2 separate regions of the Homo sapiens genome follow, and region 1 is linked to region 2. The links are contacts of gene promoters, found by promoter capture Hi-C in blood cells and fetal thymus (Javierre and others, 2016). All regions are on one chromosome and are shown on one strand. The core of a region is centred on a gene start or on the middle of the fragment in contact, and the rest is flanking DNA. Distances in the headings are between cores, read along the strand shown.

Region 1 (7,000 bases), core at 756-3,255, 4.7 Mb before region 2:
TCACAGGTGTGCTCCTGTGAGGCAGGAAGCTGTAGTGGGGAGGCTGTGTGTGGGGAAAGGGACATATGAGAAGTCTGTACTCTCTGCTACGTTTAGCTGTGAACCTGCACTTCTCTAAAAAATAAAATTAGTTAAAATTAAAAGCAAAAAATTAGAAAAATTAAAACATTACAATGTGTTATATAGTTTTCAAATCACAAGACAGAAAAAGACATAATAAAAGAAACTATAGAAAACAACAAGGATAGGAATAAAACATCAGTGATAGAAGGCAGAAGACAGAAATGTGGAGCCAAACACATTAATTTATTTTAATCATTAGTTATACTCATTTATACTAATTTATATTGATTTAACATATTAATTCTGACTAAATGGCATTAAAGGAGGTCTGAGGAATTTGCATGTCACATTCTGGATGACAGGACTCAATAATATTAACTCTTTAGTTGGCTGTAAATCATTTAAAAATATGCTCAAATTCCAATAAAAATTCCAAGAAAAATATTTTCGAACAAGAACATGTGATTTTAAATCCATATATTGAACACACACATACAATGAGAGCCATTATTATAAAATTTACTATAAGATATTTAAGATTATTATCACTATCCAAAATTAAACAAATTTGAAATGGCACAAAAATAAACACATTAATGAAAGAGAATTAAAAACACAGAAATTGAGTGTAATTTTATCTAGTAACAGGGTAACATTTTAAACCCACAAAACAGAGCGATTGTTCCATTTGTGGTATTAAAATATTGGGTAATGATTTCAGAATATAAAATGACAGAATTGAATCATGGTCCTACACCTTACATAAAAGTTAATTCCAGTATTAAATGTAAAAAAAAAAGAGAGAGAAAAAAGAAAATTAGATGTGTGTGTTTTATGACCTTGAGAATGAATGTCTTCTAAAACCAAAATTTCAAACAGAAACCATATAAAAAGGAATAAACCTAACGTACCTAATATGTAAATTCTTAAACATTTTAACACCAGGTAAATAGCACAAAACAAACTGGGGAAACTTTTACAGCAATTATGTTACATGAAAGTTAAAATCCTTATGACATATACAATGTATAAAACAATATGATTACTGCTATTATTAATAGCATTATGATTACCTGGTCTTCCCACGCACCAGTCCTCTTCTGGTGCCCTGTGGTGAAACAGAGCCCTCCCTCTCTGGCCACAGTGAGGGATCCAGCAGGAACCCGTGCCTAAACCCACAGAGGGTGTGAGCCAAGCCAGGACATCACATTCCCTCCTGCGAAATGATGCAGATACCCACTCACGACAGAGATTTGGTCCCTCTCTGGAAAAGCTGTGTAACAATTATTGCAGAAACTTGTTTCTTATGTTCCCAGACACATGGAGAAAGCTGGTCTGGAAGACTGATGTCCACATGCTAAAAGCAGTCACTCATAACACACACACTGCACACACCACACCATGTGCACATGCACACACACCCCACACACAGACACCACACAAACAGCACACACACCATGTGCGCATGCACACACACACCCCATACCCACTGCCCACACCCCACAAACACACCTACTGCACACACACCATGTGCACATGCATACACCCCATACAGACACCACACACAGACACCACACTGCACCCACACCATGTATACATGCACACACCCCACACACTGTACACACACGATGTGCACACATGCATACCTCTGACACCACACACACTGTGTACACATCATGTGCACACACACCCCCCCACAGACATCACACACACCACACAGTACATGTACCCGTGCACATACCCCCACACCACACACGAATCTACTACACATACATCACACACATACAGCACCACACACATCACACACCCCATACATACTCCCCACACACACCACACACCCCACACATACTCCCCACACACTGCACACGTACATACAGTGCCACACACATAGAGCAAACACATACCTCACATACATACACCACACCACACACACATTCTACAAACACATCAAGCACACATCAAACACTACACACACTGCACACACACAGCATCATACACACACAAAACACACACATCACATACACCACACACATATCACATGCACACATCACATATAGTACACATACACACCAAACACACATACACCACAAACACAGCACATATACACACCATGCACCACCCACATACTACACACAGTATACACACATAACACCCACAATACACTCCACACACACATATACATACCCCGTGTACCTACTACACACACAGACCACACACACATATCATGCATACACCTGCACACACCTCACAGAATACATACAATCCTCACTTTTAGAAATTAATTTGGCTTTTAAGGAGCCTGGATAGTAAAGTATTTTATTGGCGTTTGAGTGAGCCAAGAAAATGCGTATAAATACACATGCATAACTATGAGGGCCCAAGCAGCACTTTCGAAATCACAACATGAGATTAAACCGTGTAAATTTTTTATTGTTTTTAAAAAGTCAACTCTTTCTCATTTTACTAGAAACTATTTACCAGAGTAAACTAATGAGATTCTTCCTGAGGTCAAAAGACTTTCTGGAAAAACTTCTCCTTGATGAAATTGCACTTAAAACATCACTTTCATCGTGAAGTATTTCTTTAAGATGTTCTTGGTCCTTTTCCTGTTATGTGGAATCGTCAATTCAAATTTTTAAAAGTGACTCTGATATGTTTTTCATCTATTATTTAAAAAATGTTGAAGGGCTTTTTAATTCTGCCTTCAGCAGAGATCGACACACTCTGATTATGATGTAAAACTGAATACGTTACTCTGACAGGCTTTCTCCTCTGCAGCGCCGCTACCATCATTATTAATAATGATTGAATGCTTTTACTCCATGCACAATCTATATTCCCTGCTTTATAAAGAATAGAAATCTAATTCTCACTATGAAGGCAGATAAAAGTAATCCCTTCAATCTACAGATGACTGAATCATTTACCAAAGCACTCAGACTTTAAATAGAATTTATCAAATGTGTCTATATTTCTATGCATATAATTCATATAAAGAACATGTAGTTTAAATCATTGCACATTTTATGCTTTTAATCAGTTGTGATGGTCATTAGTATTTTTATCACATTTCTCCAAAGGTAGGCTAATCACTGTTATTATTTTCAGCTAGAAATATAAAAGGTATTTTCTATTTTTGATGACTTTGAAACATAACCCTTGGAATATAATATCTGTGTATAATATCTGTGGAAAGCATGAAAGTAATATTCAAACAGTATGCATTTTTTCCAGAATGAAAATTTCCTCTACAATAACATTCATCCTTTTTTCCTGATGGACACATAAAAGTCAACATTTCTAACATTGCTGGACGTTATTTACATTAAACTTGCCTCAGCTTCAGGTGTTGCAGAAACTGGGCAAGAGGCCACAAGGTACACAATACACACACACACACACAAACTTGTATTATTATACTTACCTAAGTGTCTAAAGAGGTGGATAAATATATTAGATTGCTCCAGAACAAGGATTTTTATGGGGCCTATTGGAAAGTATGACTGCAGTTTGAGTGAGATGCCTGTAAGAGATTCAATTTGGCCACTATTTATTGAGTATCCAATTTTAAAAGTACTGACAGAAGGCTCATGAGTTAGAAATTTTCACCTAAGTCTATTGGAAATGTGCTACTGGATGCTGTAGTAAAGAGTGGTGTGGTAATTGTAAAACACATCTGATATCTAAACCTTTGTTTTTTACCTGAAATCTTTATGGAGGTGATTGTGTATGTCAATTTGAATCTTCCCATCAACAAGATAAATAAATAAATAGCCAGCCTACCTCGATAAATTAGTTCACCTTTTCGGCAGTGCTTCTCCGCCTTTGACAGCCACAAGATTCGCCCGGGGATCTCCTTAAAATGCAAAACCATAGACCACACTTTGACTAGCTTGGATAAGGGGCCAGAGCATTGAAATGAGTGTGTAGGTGACTGTGCTAAGATTCTCCTGCTCATTTGGGAACTGGCTCGCTCACCATATAAATAAAGCTTAGGACCTCTAGTCCTTGCTGGAAAAGAAATACACATACATAGGATGTGACTGTGCATATGGAATATCTGTTGTGTTCTGGACATTGTGCTAGACAACAGAGATAAGGAGTCAAATAATCCCTTGTCTGTATTTGAAAAGAGCTTCCGACACAGTGGCTTCTGAGGTCTTTGAAACAAGATTCACTTTCAGATTTGATTATTTTATTTATGATTTGATATTTTCATTGAACCCCATGATATGATAAGGTTTCCAGAACCTGCTAGAACAATTGACTTTGCTTTCAGCATTATGAAGCCACTGAAGCATATAAGTAGTTCATTTATGTTTGTATTTAACCAGACAGGAACAAGTTGAGCTACTTTTCTGGCCACCTTCGTTTAGACCTGTTTTTTTCAGTTATTTTTCTTTGTTTGTTTTTGAAACGGGTCTCACTCTGTCACCTAGGCTGGAATGCAGTGGCGTGATCAGAGCTCACTGCAGCCTCTACCTTCTAGGCTCAAGAAATCCTCTCACCTCAGCCTCCTGAAAAGCTGCGACCACAGGCTCATACCACCATACCCAGCTAATTAAAAAATATATTTTTTTGTACAGACAGGGTTTTTCCATGTTTCCTAGACTTGTCTCCAACTCCTGAGCTCAAGCAATCTGCCTGCCTCAGCCTCCTAAAGTGTAGAGCTGTGTTTTTAGTCTTTTTTGAGCTGTTTTACAATGCAGTTTTGAATTGATAAGTTTGGATTCATTCTGATATTTACAGATTTAACATCCTACTTCACTAGATGCTCATAGCCTTGATCCATTACAGTAGCCACCTTGTCCATCTCTGCTCATAGCCTAAACTAACAGAAGCCAGAGGGAAGAAATGGAAGCCAACATGAGTCCAGAACACACATTTTATAAGAGCATAAGAAATTTAAAAATAGCAAAGTGTATCATGAAGTTTTTAATAGATATGCGTGGCTAAAATTTATTCTCAATCAATATATTCTATAAACTGGGAGAAAATATTAAACACATGAAAAGTAAGGAACTTGGGCTGGGCGCGGTGACTCACGCCTGTAATCCCAGCACTTTGGGAGGCTGAGGTGGGCGGATCACAAAGTCAGGAGATCAAGACCATCCTGGCTAACACGGTGAAACCCCGTCTCTACTAAAAATACAAAAAATTAGCCAGGCATGGTGGCAGGTGCCTGTAGTCCCAGCTACTCGGGAGGCTGAGGCAGGAGAATGCTGTCAACCTGGGAGGCGGAGCTTGCAGTGAACCAAGATCGCGCCACTGCACTCCAGCCTGGGCAACAGAGCAAGACTCCGTCTCAAAAAAAAAAAAAAAAGAAAGAAAGAAAAGTAAGGAACTTTTATCATTATTATATAACTAATATTGGTAAGCTATTGATTATTGCCACAATTTCAGATCCTGTTATTTGTCTATTCAGAGATTCAACTTCTTCCTGGTTTAGTCTTGGGAGAGTGTACGTGTCGAGGAATTTATCCATTTCTTCTAGATTTTCTAGTTTATTTGCGTAGAGGTGTTTGTAGTATTCTCTGATGGTAGTTTGTATTTCTGAGGGATCGGTGGTGATATCCCCTTTATCATTTTTTATTGTGTCTATTTGATTCTTCTCTTTTTTCTTTATTAGTCTTGCTAGCGGTCTATCAATTTTGTTGATCCTTTCAAAAAACCAGCTCCTGCATTCATTAATTTTTTTGAAGGGTTTTTTGTGTCTCTATTTCCTTCAGTTCTGCTCTGATTTTAGTTATTTCTTGCCTTCTGCTAGCTTTTGAATGTGTTTGCTCTCGCTTTTCTAGTTCTTTTAATTGTGATGATAGGGTGTCAATTTTGGATCTTTCTTGCTTTCTCTTGTGGGCATTTAGTGCTATAAATTTCCCTCTACACACTGCTTTGAATGCGTCCCAGAGATTCTGGTATGTTGTGTCTTTGTTCTCGTTGGTTTCAAAGAACATCTTTATTTCTGCCTTCATTTCGTTATGTAACTAGTAGTCATTCAGGAGCAGGTTGTTCAGTTTCCATGTAGTTGAGCGGTTTTGAGTGAGATTCTTAATCCTGAGTTCTAGTTTGATTGCACTGTGGTCTGAGAGATAGTTTGTTATAATTTCTGTTCTTTTACATTTGCTGAGGAGAGCTTTACTTCCAAGTATGTGGTCAATTTTGGAATAGGTGTGGTGTGGTGCTGAAAAAAATGTATATTCTGTTGATTTGGAGTGGAGAGTTCTGTAGATGTCTATTAGGTCCGCTTGGTGCAGAGCTGAGTTCAATTCCTGGGTATCCTTGTTGACTTTCTGTCTCGTTGATCTGTCTAATGTTGACAGTGGGGTGTTAAAGTCTCCCATTATTAATGTGTGGGAGTCTAAGTCTCTTTGTAGGTCACTCAGGACTTGCTTTATGAATCTTGGTGCTCCTGTATTGGGTGCATATATATTTATATAACTAATATGATGAGAATGTGGTTTATGTTTTTATCTTTGCAAGATTTAGGAACATTTAGTGCAAAGAGGAAGAATTTATAATCATGGGGAGCATGTATGATACTGGAGGGACCCTTCTGACAAGGGGGAAATGGCATCACGAGATATGCTATGGTCATAGCTTTGTGGGAGCACAGCTAGCTATGATCTCCCTCATCAAACCCATTGGGCAGTGTTCAGTTACCAACATTGAGATAGAGCTCACCCACCCAGGACAGAAAAGAACATATACACTGCAGTCAGAAGCCACTGAGTAGGAAGCTCCTTTCAGATAGAGGCAAGGGATATTTGACTTTTTATCTCTATTGTCTAGTACAATGTCCAGAACACAACAGACATTCCATATGCACAGTCACATCCTATGTATCTGTATTTCTTTTCCAGCCGGGACTGGAGGTCCTAAGCTTCATTAATATGGTGAGCCAGTGCCCACATGAACAGTAGCATCTTAGCACTGTCAC
Region 2 (7,586 bases), core at 3,691-6,190:
TAACTTCTCACAATGTCAGTTTTATGCATATGTAAAATGGGAATAATCATAATGCCTGTCTCTTAAAGATGGAATGAGGGCTAACACGCATGGAAAGCTCATGGCACAGAGCCTGCCATATAACAGGCATTCCACAACTGTGAAGCCAGCATGAATGCCTCACTTAATAGAGGAGAAAACTGAGGCCCGGAGAGATGAAGATTCTTGGCCCAAGTTCAAAAGCATCAGGCTGCATCTCTGTCTACCACCCTGCAACCAGACTTGTCCTCTTGTATTTAAAAAAACAATAAAATATAATAAAGTTGAGGAGAAACCATCGGATTTAAAAATGAATGTCCTAAGTCTAAAAGTCAAGATCTGTATCTTGAGACACAAGAAATTTCCTGTTAATGATGAACGTACATCATTAGAGTTTCTTATCTTTCAAATTCTAGAGATTTATATGGGGATTCTTTGAATTACATACAAATATTTTTAACCTTTATAAGATTTATATCAAGTGGTATATTAATACCATCTGTGGCCAGTACAAATTCCACCCTACACCCCGGAATTCCATGTATTATGAATTAAGTATTCTGTCTATTCCATTTGGGTCTATAAGCATTCTTATCATGTCTATTTGTTTAAGGACCTCTTTTAAGAAACAGCTCATTTAATATTTTGTGTTTGAACCATCTTGAAGGCAAATATTACAGTCATTTTCCTTTTACATAGAAAAAATACATATCATGAAAATAAAATAATACAAAATAACATTCATGGGTTCCGAGGGCATATCTCCCAGGATGTGAAGTACTGCCTCACTCTGGTAGTATGGTCAGCTGGAGGTAACTAGGAAACAAGCTAACAAAACAAAAGGCTGAACAATCAATAAATTAAACAACAAACCTTCGCTTTGAGATTACTAGGTGATATAGAACAGGAAGGCATGTGGCTGTCCTGACAACCAGCATCTATTCCTCCCTGGCTGGAGTTGAGGTGATGGGAGGGAAATTGAGTGACAGCAGAAAGAATCTCTGTAAGCAGAGCTCTCAGAGTGACACCTTTGGGGACCCAAGGCCAGCCGGGGTTAAGATTAGTGTGAATGCTCTGAAATGTCTGCTTGGTGTTGGCCACACCCTTCCAGGGCCCCTGGCCTGCCCTGCCCTGGCATGGCCAGTTATGTCTGGAATTCAGGGCTGTCATCCCCTCCCCAAGCTCTCTTGTGGGGTCCCTGGTGTGGCTTTTCCTCCCACAGTCCCTCGTTTGCCTTTATTATCAGTAGCTGCTCCCCACAGTGGTGGCATCATGAGTGCTGGAGAGCTTTCTCTGCCTCAGCACTCTTGGCCTCGCCTCTGGGCGTCCTCTGAGATTGCTGTCACCACCAGGCCGGCTATGGACTCTCTATAAGATGGTGGGGCCTCTGGGTGGGAGTCATTTCCATCCTGGAATTCCAGGCCCGTCTCTGTATATAGAGGTGGAGGAATGCCAGAGGCCTCTCTCTCTGCAGGACAGCTCTGCTTTTCCACCTCAAGGCTCTCTTCATAAGCTGGAGGGTAAAAGTCTGGCCTAGGGGACAAAACAGCATAAACATGCGTGCGTTATTTAGGCATTAATGCCAAAGAGGCAGACGGCTGCCTCTCTCAGCTCAAATTGTGCGAAGCTAAACTGTTAAGAAACATGGATTTTTGAAACAGATGTACTTCTTCCTGGCATCACCAGTTTTTTAAAAATGTGCTGCTCTTCCAAAAGAACCTTTTTATCAGCCACAGGATGCCTGCCTCTAGTCACATTTTTTTCCCAGTGGGTTATGCCAAGCTATTCCTTCTCTATTGCTCATTCACTCATGAAAACAGGGCCATTCAGTGTGAGATCCTTGTCAACATTAGAGGAGGTGGGGGCTTTGGATAGGGAACTTCTCTCTACCGAGTACTTAGTCCATCCACATCCTTGCTCCCTTTCTCGCATGGCATCATCCCCTCAATTGCACTCACTTTCTCTGATCATCACAGCCAACAAAATAATGAATGAAAACCAACTCTGTGCTGATCCCTGAACTATACCAGATGCCATGTCTCTATCCTAACACCCTTTCGAGACTCAGTAGCTAGTTTCAAAGAAAATATACAAACATATTCATTTCTCAAATGATATCAACTGACAACTTTACACAGATTTCAGTTGTAGCCCTTTCTATGCCAGTAGGCTAAAGCAGCCATTCATTCGGGGGCTGATGTACTCATTGGTCATCTTGCCTGGCATTTCTAATTGCTAAATCCTCCTGGCTTCTCCATCATGAATGAATTTGGGGGAAGGGGAGAGGGGAGGAAGAGAGACCGGTGAGCTTGGCTGAGTTGTGTATTTATAGAGTGATCCTTCCAGTGCCTACAGGGAGTGTTTATGGTGTGTAACCACAACAGAACAGGGACTGCCATTTGTAGCCACAACTCCATTCCAAATGTTACCAGGCCCAAAGCCAGTAGCTGAAGAAGCTGTCTACTATAAGGCATAAATCTCAGCCTTCGCTCAGAATAGCCAAGGCTGAGTCACGGGGCACATGTGTAAAGGCATTTTACACAGAAAGGTGAGATGTTCCCTGGAGTGATGTGAAAGGTTCCAGGATGACTGCTGCCTGCCCCAAATCCCAGCTACCTCTCCCAACCCCACCCTCCTTCAACTGCCATCCATATTCCCAGTCCCCTGAATTCCATCATCGGAGACCCATTTGCTTTGATATCTCAACCTGGGTATCCATTTTGAGTGCAAATGCTTTGGAGAAATGTGACTTCCCAGGCTGACTTGCCAGCCATTCTGCGTGGGATAAGCATCTTATTACATGCAGCGAGAAGAGGCAGTAAAATGGGGGTGTTACGATGTCCATAATTTACTTTCAAACATTTCAGTATACTGTAATATTATGCAGTGTTAGTCAATTTAAGCTATATCCTAAAGGCAATCAGTTACATTTATCAGAAATTCACACTCTAGAGGTAGTCCTCTAACATTTATACAAAAAGAAATCATCACTCTAGAGGCATCTTCTACAATCACTTCATTTCTCTTAATTTTTAATCAAACCCAGAAACTCTGCTGGTTAGTATAACATTGGAAATAAGTTTTGGTTTTCATAATTATTATCTTATTAATTAGCATAAAGGATGCCAAAAGTGGATGCTCATGGGTAAGATTACTTATATTCAAGATACATGGAGTAGCTAAAATATTTTAGATACTTTCTACTCTTGCACGAAGAGGGCAAAATAATTATAGTCTTGTAGCCTGTATCTTGAGAATGATGCCTAGGGTGTTATCCCTAAATGGTCCTGTGGCTAGCCAAGAATTAGGAGGTTTCTTGTTGCCTGATACTGACTATAAGATTAACTGAATCTTTTTTTTCTTGTGGTAAAATATATATGACATAAAATTTACTGTTTTTAAGTGTATAGCTCAGTGGCACTAAATACACTCATATTGCTCTACAACCATCACCTTAAAACTCTCTACTCATTAAACAATAGGTCCCCAGTCTCTCCTTCCACCAGCCCCTGGGACCACTGTTCTACTTTCTGTGTCTGTGAATTTGACTACGCTAAGTACTCATGTAAGTGGAATTATACAATATTTGCCCTTTGTAACTGACTTGTTTCACTTAGCATAATGTTTTCAACTTCATCCAAGTGGTGGCATGTGCCAGGATTTCCTTCCTTTTTAAGGCTAATATTCCATTGCATGTATATACCACATTTTGTTTATCTACTCACCTGTTGATGGACATTTGGGCTATTATGAATAAATGTTGCTACAAGCATTGGTGTACAAACATCCATTTGAATCCCTGCTTTCAGTTCCTTTGTGTATAAACTCAGAATGTAGAATTGCCAGATCAAACAGTAATTCAATATTTAATGTATAGAGGAGTCTCCACACTGTTTTCCACAGTGGTTGCACCATTTTAACATTCCCACCAGCAATGCACAGCGTTCCAATTTATTGACATCCTCACCAACACTAGCTGTTTGGTTTTGTTTTTTGATGATAACTATCCTAATGTATGAGATGGCGAGAAAGAATGAATCTTGCCTCTAGAATATTATCACCTTCCCCTGAAGGAATGTTTTATGCAAGGTGAGATCACAACACCTAAAAGGACAGTAAACTGGGACTTTTCTGAGCTCACAGAGATTCCAGGACTCATTTTATGCCTGCTTCTTCATTTGTTGTGTGGCAGAATTTGGTCTGGGACTTGCTTTCCTTAGAACCTCATAGCCAGGTTATGGGAAGTAACTAACCATCACCTGCCACTAATTAATGACAGCTGCCATGATATAACAAAAGAGCCTGGGTTTCTAAATTGGCTTAGGTGGGTTTTCACTGGGGGTGGTGGTAGGGTTTCTCTGAGATGAGTTGCCCCTGCGTCATGGTTTTCCCCAAAGATGGCGCCACTCTTCCTAATAACAACCCCAGAGTAATTCCCTGACAATAAAGCTTTGGTTCTAGACAGACAGCCCATGGGACATGTAAGTCGCTCCATAGTAGGATCAGAAATTACTCAGATCTTACACAACTCAGCCCATCTCAGCCCTTCTTGGTCCCTCTGCCTGTCAGCACGTACCTGTCTACTGTGGCCACGGGCAGGGCCCCATGAGCAAGGTGTTGTCGGAGCATGTGCCTCAACACTCCTTTGCTTTCAGTCACCTGGCGATAGTTGCTCCAGAAAATTCCACTCAGAAGGATCACAAACCCCAGAGGCAGAAGCAAATAGGCCGCAATCAGGCTCCCCTGACAGTCGAATATGGAGCCCCAGGAAATGAAGAAGGCCCCCAGGCAGACCATCAGGAAACCCATCAGGAGGGCAAGAGCACAGAGAATGAGGCCAGTTCTGTTCTGCATCCTTGCACCTTAGGAACCCAGCACCCTGACCCTGCTGCTCCTCTGCTTCCCTGCTTGCTCCAAGAGAATGAGCTCATTAGCCAGCTTGCAGCTTTATATGCTCTGGGACCCACTGGCCTTTGGACAACTAAATGAAACAGGCACTTAGAAGCTATTCATTAACCATTGAAAGTAAGTGTAATATCCTTGGAGAATTAGCCAAAAAACATAGCATTGTATACTGCAGGCAGGAGTGGCTTCGTGTAGCTGTTTTGTTCTTCAGAGTTGGGTGGGACACTCAGCTGTTCCCAGTTATTTGAACGTACAGCCCTCCTTTGATTAAAAGGCGCTGGTCTCTTAATCCCCATGGAGGGCAATTCCCCACTAAAAGCTGGAGAAGTTAGCACTCTTTAAAGAACGATCTTCTTTGAGGTTTGGTAAGAAATCCCTTCCTGATTCCTTCTCCCTTTTTCTGTACTAAAAAGGCATTTCTTCAAGGCTGTTAACATGTTTGTCTTGCCTCCCTCAATGAATCCCCACTTATTGCCCCCACACTATGATACTGGCATAATTCCAAGACAGAAGTTCAGAGTGTGAACTTCGTGGTTCCTGCTCTGTTGACAAGATCGAAAGAGCCTGAGTGGGAGGGAAAGGAGAGTGCTGGAGAAAAGGACTATAATAGACAGAGCCTCGGGAATTTGGGGGGATTTTGGGCCTGTAATTCCTGCAATCTTTCCCCCTTTCATAAAGTACATATGAAATAGAATTCGTTTTAGAGGATGCTGCTAAAAATGTTCCCTGTCCTCTCCTCCACACCTCTGCTCTATGTAGCATTGCCTCAAAAAATCTTTCCAGAACCAGCCTTCTGTTTCCTGGCTGGAATTTGTTTTCTTTAGCTTGACTGTCTTTGATTGTGGATAGCTTATTTCAGACGTGCTTTATGCCCTGGCTCTGCCCTTTTTTATTTGATAATGTGGCATGTCTCTGCCAAAAGTCTCCTTCCCATAGGAACCCTGGGTTGCTTTTACTCAGGATAGCTTATCTTCAGTTCCTCTTTGCTGCTGTTCCACTCCACTACTCCATTACCATTATTTTCCATTTACTTTCCCAATGAGAGCAGCAGTTTTTTGTGGCGTGCCCTAATAATCCCTCATATAACCTTTAGTCTCACACTCACCATCTCCTTAGCTCTACCTTCATGTTAGGGCTGGGAGACACGGATATTAGAGAGGTACACACTATGGATCAAAAACTATATAAGGCACTTCTCCATTCCAACCCTTAGCCTTTACCTTTCTTAGCTTCAATTTCGACCTTGAACTACCTTGATCTTCTAGTCTTGATATTGTCTTTGTAATCTTAAAACAGCTCTTATTCCCTCCTTCCCCAAACTGTGAGATGGAATATTTCTAAGATGATCCCTAAGGATCCCACCTCCTGATATTCATGTCCTTGTGTAAGTAATCCTCTCCCCTGAGTGTAGGCTGGACCTAGTGACTTCATTCTAATCAATAGAATATGGTAACGGTGATCGGAAGTTACTTCCGTGGAGGCTACACAAGATTGTGGTTTTCATCTTTCTAGCAGACTCTCTCTATTGTCCTCTTGGCTTACGCCCTTTGAAGAAGGAAGCTGCCATATTGGAGAGGCCCATGAGGCAAGGAATTGAGGGCAGGTTCTGGCCAACAGTCACTGAAGAACTGAGGCCCTTAGTCCGTCAGCCCATGAGGAACTGCATCCTGTCAATGACCACGTGAGCTTGCAATCAAATCCTCATCCCACTGAGCCTTGAGATGACTCTGCTCCCAAGCATCACCTTGACTCAGTGACCCTGAAGTAGAGGACCCAGGTAAGTCATACTCGGATTCCTGACCCACAGAAACTGTGAGATAAAACGTTTCAGCCAGGGTCCTGGATGCCACAAGATGGCAAGAGCCATAATCAATGAATGCATTATGATCAAATCATTTCATGTTTATGGATGTCACTATTTTAACAAATAAAAGAGGTCAAAAGTTTAAAAAAAGTATATTTTAAAAATATGCTAAGTTTTGTGGCCATTTTTTAGATAGCAGTAGATAACTAAAAAAATTCTCTTAGAACTTTGAAAATCAGAAGAGACAATCAATGTTAAGTATTTATCATAGTACCTGGCACAGAGAGTGCCCTGTGAAGGTTATCTATAATCACCATCACCAATATTGTTATTATCATTGCTGTTACAATTCCAAAAATCTGTGGAAGACCCAGGACCCCCAGCTGAAAGGTCTGCACTAGGAGTTGGGTCCCAGGAACAGGTAGATGGTAAAGCCCCAGGATAATGTTAAGAATCAGGTGATGGAGGAAGAGTACTCTCAATCGGAACTGCCCATCAGACAGTTGGGCTTCTCTGTTTTAGACAAAAATGGAGGCAGAAATTAGACTGGGGATTATGACAGGTCAGGCCTCATTCTTGTGATCACATCAACACATGAGTAAATAAGTTTCTCTATACTTTTTCCTCCTCCATGCCAATAAAGTACACTAGAACCATTGCCTTATAGTTTGTCAGACAGTTCCTTCCCCTCCAGTGCCCTTTGAGGAGGCTCCTGTCATTCCACAGCAGTGTTGTTGTTGTGATGGTGGTGGTGGTATGTTTTTGGTGAGAAATTAGGTATGGAAGAGCAAAATCCAGGAAGTGGCAGGGGGATGGAAGGACTCAGTCCCTTTACATAAAATTTATGTGAAATTAAGAA

Evidence for each region. Contacts are between HindIII fragments. The CHiCAGO score rates a contact against its expected background, and 5 or more counts as called.
Region 1: a fragment that was not itself captured here is called in contact with the fragment with the promoter of TMEM252 in region 2 in 2 of 17 cell types (M0 macrophages and monocytes); the score reaches 6.7 in M0 macrophages.

What each region holds. Positions count from the first base shown.
Region 1 is chr9:63,821,585-63,828,584 of GRCh38, forward strand. No RefSeq gene overlaps it. Among named protein-coding and RNA genes, the nearest start is that of MIR4477B, 5.5 kb to the left of the region's middle. RefSeq lists an enhancer at 2,861-3,362 and silencers at 3,791-4,085, 6,651-6,945. The HindIII fragment of the contact is 4,094 bases long and covers 1-4,052 here.
Region 2 is chr9:68,535,943-68,543,528 of GRCh38, forward strand. TMEM252 (transmembrane protein 252) reads right to left here and starts at 4,941. Exons shown (of 2, transcript NM_153237.2): 1 at 4,595-4,941; 2 at 638-1,551. The coding sequence starts at 4,872. The coding sequence ends at 1,317. It overlaps TMEM252-DT (TMEM252 divergent transcript), which reads left to right and starts at 5,083. Exons shown (of 5, transcript NR_187592.1): 1 at 5,083-5,288; 2 at 6,436-6,700. The HindIII fragment of the contact is 3,743 bases long and covers 4,466-7,586 here.